Linked DNA regions of Homo sapiens: region 2 is linked to region 1. Evidence: promoter capture Hi-C in 16 types of primary human blood cells and fetal thymus (Javierre and others, 2016). All regions are on one chromosome and are shown on one strand. The core of a region is centred on a gene start or on the middle of the fragment in contact, and the rest is flanking DNA. Distances in the headings are between cores, read along the strand shown.

The links. Contacts are between HindIII fragments. The CHiCAGO score rates a contact against its expected background, and 5 or more counts as called.
Region 2: a contact is called between the fragment with the promoter of OR5AP2 here and the fragment with the promoter of OR9G1 in region 1, in 3 of 17 cell types (neutrophils, total B cells and naive B cells). The highest score is 8.6, in neutrophils.

What each region holds. Positions count from the first base shown.
Region 1 is chr11:56,697,765-56,700,464 of GRCh38, reverse strand. It overlaps OR9G1 (olfactory receptor family 9 subfamily G member 1), which reads right to left and starts at 1,370. Exons shown (of 2, transcript NM_001005213.2): 1 at 1,275-1,370; 2 at 1-95. The coding sequence starts at 77. The HindIII fragment of the contact is 13,944 bases long and covers 1-2,700 here.
Region 2 is chr11:56,641,065-56,643,764 of GRCh38, reverse strand. OR5AP2 (olfactory receptor family 5 subfamily AP member 2) reads left to right here and starts at 1,326. Exons shown (of 1, transcript NM_001002925.1): 1 at 1,326-2,276. The coding sequence starts at 1,326. The coding sequence ends at 2,276. The HindIII fragment of the contact is 8,469 bases long and covers 1-2,547 here.

The sequences.
Region 1 (2,700 bases), core at 121-2,620:
AGGCCCAGCTGCATTCCTGGGTCTGTGGTGAAGCCCAGCAGTATAAACTCAGTCACTGTATGATTGCTCCTCTGCATGGCTGTAAGGAATCTCACCTATGGGGAAAGAAAATGAGCTCAGTTTGCATTACTGTCATGAATATGTAGAATTATGTTACATAAGATCACATTTGCAGTGTTTCGTGAAGTCTAGAACCAACAATCTAATTGTTTGTTTTAGAAAGTCTTCATTTTGCAACAATCAGGCTTTGCAATTATGTATTCAATTCTAAATTTCTTAAGTTGTTTAATTATGTTTTTCCTTTAGGAATGACTGTTCAAGTGAAGAAAAGATGTACTTATAATTGCTATTTTTCTTATACTTTGATCCTCTTCCTTTTGTCAATTTTCTCTTTTGCTAAATGTGTACATTTCTATTTTTAAGTATCACTTGTTTGTCTTTAAAATACTGGGCATCCCTCTTTTAAATATAGTTTAAAAAGAATAAAGTATTTTTCCTCTAGTTTCTATGCATTGAAACATTATGAAAGCATTATAAATTCATATCTCATAATATTATATATAGGCCTAAGAAAATACTAAGAAAAGTATAAAGGGAAAAGAGAATAGATACAATGTTTTGGGGAAAATGTGTACAGAAGAATGATATACAATGATGAAATTACGAAGTACACAGTATTTACTATATTTTACACATATTCTATAATAAACACAATAATAACAATAATTGAAACACCAGTTTTAAATGTAATTTATGTATACTACAGTATTTCTTATGATGACTTGAAAATCTACCCACTCTCTTCAGGATTCTCTTCATATAGAACTACAAATGTTCTATTGAAATGGGTAGAGCAAAATATATCTAGCATACATCTGTCTTACACTGTAAAGACAATTCTTGACAGACTAACTTCTCATTAACCTAAGTCATTTTGTAGGTAAATAAGTTAAAATTCAAGTGTACATGATTTGTATTTGTATGATCTTCCTCTTGGGACCTAGGAAAAACACTCAGTTCACACTCAACTCTCAATATTAGCATTAATAAACATCAATGTTAGTAAACAGTGTTATTTCTGAGTAAATATAGAACAATATAAGATTGTTCCACTTGAGCTTTTGCTACCTCTACTCCATTCAAGTTGCAATGATCTCACATGATTAAACCGAATGATGAAGTTCTCTTCTGATTAGATCTACCTGCAGCGTTTGTCATAGTTTCTCACTCCTTCTCTGCTGGAAAATCTTTACTTGGTTTTCAGGTTGTCATACCTGTCTGGTTTGCTTCTACTTCTCTTGCTGCATGTGTCTCAGTGCTACAGAACAGACTTTTGAACTTTGGAGTGTCCCCAGAATCAGCGCTTGAACCACTGGTCTTCTCCATCTGCCATCAGTTTCTGGTAATCTCATCCAATCTGATGACTTTAAATGCTTCCATATGCACATGACTCCAATGTTACCTCCCCTGACTATGCCTCCTCCCTGAAGTGAGACTCATGGATTCCAATGCCCAATTAATATTTCTTCCCTAATGTCTCCTGGGCATCTTAAGAAAATTGAGTTCACAGGGAATACTGTTTTATCATTGTATTCTAAGAGCTATATTATTTGCTTAAGTGTTATCATTAAGAAAAAAATTTTACTAACAATCCTCCCTAACCTGATCCTCATTCAGTCTTCTCCACTGCAGTAAATGGCATTATTCCATGTTAGGGAGAGTCGTTTTATATTATTCTTGACCACTCTCTTTCTTACACTCTGTCGCTTATTAATTAGCAACATCTCCTAGATTCTACCTTCAAAATGCATCTAGAACATGACTAGTTTCTCCCAGCTCCAGTGTTTTCACTCTACATGGGGCCATGATTGGCCTCTAATTGGTCTTCCTGCTTTTATTCTTATCCCACTTGAGTCTTTCCACATGGCAGCCAAAATGGTCCTGTTAAAATGCCAGTTAGATCATGTTAGTTTTCTCTTCTAAGAACTCCATCCAATGACTTTTCCACTTATTCAGAGTAAAAGTTAGACTCTTACAAAGATGTGCAAGATCTTTGTGCTTTTGCCCTCTTTACTCACTTGCTTGTGTCTCCTACTCTTTTCCTCTTTGTTCAATCCATTCCAAAGGGTTTCTAGAATAACATGGTATGATCTAGAATTCAGTTTCTAGAATAACATAGTATGATTCTATAATTCAGTTTCTAGAATACCATGGTATGAGCAATGCCTTGCCTTCACTCCACGCTGTTGTTGCAATGCTCTTCCCCTTAGGAGTCTTTATAGCCAGTTCCCTCACATTTCTCAGTTCTTAACGGCTTCTAAAGTTGTTCCCTGATCACCATATTGCAACCTACTTCCCTGAAATTCTTATGTCCCTTTCCTACTTCACTGTTGTCTTGTAGCTCTGCTTGTTATCTTATATTACGTCTCATTAGTTTAACTTCTGTTATTTTCCCTTCATTAGAAAATGCTCTTTTTCCATCTGCATTTGTTGGAAAACATGTATCATTTTAATGTTAAATCATTTTGATTTGTAGTTTCATTCTGTGGCCATATGGGCTGTTTGTCTTAAATTGATTACTTCATACAAAATTAGAACAATTTTTTGGATGAGGCAACATCTTTGAAAACATGGAACCAAGGGAACTCCAAGGGGTTTCTTGAAGAAAAAATTTGAAAACTGCTGGACTCAACATCTTCT
Region 2 (2,700 bases), core at 77-2,576, 57 kb after region 1:
TTGATTACTTGGTATTAAATTATTCCCTTGATTAAGTATGGTGGCTGAAAAATTGCATGTGCTACTTCTGATGTTTTCTGGTTCTCTTGAGAACTTGTGAATGTGAGTATTAGAGATTTTCACTGGCTTGGCTACTTCTGCCATTTTTATCGGGGATGCCTACTCATTCTTACAATCTGATTCTCTAAATATTGGAATGAATTGTGGAAAATTACTATTTAACTGACCCTATTCTGTTCTCTGTAGATGTTTATTATGGAAAATCAGAGTGGGGTTCGAACTGTACTGGCTGTGTGGGAATATTCTCTATTTTCTTCTTTGGCCAGGCATTTTTAAGCTCTTCCTCTACCCCAAGAGATTCTGCTGTTTTTCTTTCTTTCTTTCTTTTCTCTTTCTTTCCTTCTCTCTTTCTTTCTTTCCTTTCTTTCTTTTTTCCTTCCTTCCTTCCTTCCTTCCTTCCTTCCTTCCTTCCTTCCTTCCTTCCTTCTCTCTCTCCTTCCTTCCTTCTTTCTTTCTTTCTTTGTTTCCTTCTTTCTTTCTTTCTCTTTTTTTTTTTTTTTTGGCACCGTCTCACTCTACTGCACAGGCTGGAGTGGTGCAGTGGTGCAAACCCAGCTCAGTGCAGCCTCAAACTCCTGGGGTCAAGCAATCCTCCCACCTCAGCCTCCTGAGTAGCTGAGACCACAGGGATGAGCCACCACACATAGCTTTTTTTTTTTTTTTTTTTAAATATTGCAGAGAGGAGATTTTGCCACATTGCCCAGGCTGGTCTTTAACTCTTGAGCTCAAGTGATCTGCCTTGCCTTGGTCTCTCAAAGTACTGGGATTACAGTTGTAAGCCACCAGGCCCAGCCCAACTATTTTTCTTGTCTGGCACTATAGATTAATTTTATTAACTTTCAATATTTTTATTCATTCTATTAGTACTGAGGAGGAATTGTAAGTGTCCTGAATTCATTCTATCATCCTTCTCCAGAAGTTGTGTCTGGAGGGTATGTCAGTATATATAAATTAATTTATTTATCACAAGTAATTATGACAGTCACATCTTAAGAATAAGTTATTTTAATTATTCAATAAAGAGTTAACTGTAGGAATGACCATAGTTAATACACACTAAATCACTTGCTTCAGTCATTAGTAGACAGCACATCTAGTACTACAAGTCTTTTGATTTGGCATCAAATCCAACATACCTTTTATTATGCTTTTCACTTTTTGCTCTTCTGTTAGAAGTTGTTTCACTAAAAATATATTATAGCTCCATCATGTATTCATCTGACTAAATTCCACTGTGCATCTTCTTTCTTATTGCAGCTCAAATGATGAGACTTATGAAAGAGGTTCGAGGCAGAAATCAAACAGAAGTAACAGAATTTCTCCTCTTAGGACTTTCCGACAATCCAGATCTACAAGGAGTCCTCTTTGCATTGTTTCTGTTGATCTATATGGCAAACATGGTGGGCAATTTGGGGATGATTGTATTGATTAAGATTGATCTCTGTCTCCACACCCCCATGTATTTCTTTCTCAGTAGCCTCTCTTTTGTAGATGCCTCTTACTCTTCTTCCGTCACTCCCAAGATGCTGGTGAACCTCATGGCTGAGAATAAGGCCATTTCTTTTCATGGATGTGCTGCCCAGTTCTACTTCTTTGGCTCCTTCCTGGGGACTGAGTGCTTCCTGTTGGCCATGATGGCATATGACCGCTATGCAGCCATTTGGAACCCCCTGCTCTACCCAGTTCTCGTGTCTGGGAGAATTTGCTTTTTGCTAATAGCTACCTCCTTCTTAGCAGGTTGTGGAAATGCAGCCATACATACAGGGATGACTTTTAGGTTGTCCTTTTGTGGTTCTAATAGGATCAACCATTTCTACTGTGACACCCCGCCACTGCTCAAACTCTCTTGCTCTGATACCCACTTCAATGGCATTGTGATCATGGCATTCTCAAGTTTTATTGTCATCAGCTGTGTTATGATTGTCCTCATTTCCTACCTGTGTATCTTCATTGCCGTCTTGAAGATGCCTTCGTTAGAGGGCAGGCACAAAGCCTTCTCCACCTGTGCCTCTTACCTCATGGCTGTCACCATATTCTTTGGAACAATCCTCTTCATGTACTTGCGCCCTACATCTAGCTACTCAATGGAGCAAGACAAGGTTGTCTCTGTCTTTTATACAGTAATAATCCCTGTGCTAAATCCCCTCATCTATAGTTTAAAAAATAAGGATGTAAAAAAGGCCCTAAAGAAGATCTTATGGAAACACATCTTGTAGAGCCATGTTACCCATCATTTGTTACGTAGAAGAAAATACATTTTCATGTTAACTGTATTCTCTGATTGTTTAAGCTGTTTCTCTGTGTTAAAGTAGATAATTTAAAATGAAGTATACTTTTTAATATCCTAGTATCTCATATATATATACACACACACACACGGGTCCCTTTGATGCACCAATACACTAGATGAAGGTTGGGACTGGAAAAAGTATCAAAACACTTGGAATTGGCTAATCTGGACTTAAGTTTTAATTTAAATATTAAGCTTATCTCAGTCTGAGTTTTATTATACAAACATTGGTGTCTTTGGGTTCTGGGCAAACAAACTGAGACAGAGAGATATTTTTAGGCAGAAAGTTTATCAGAGTGTTCTCACAAACAATATATAGTGAGGGGAGCAGGATTGGACAGAAGGAGTTG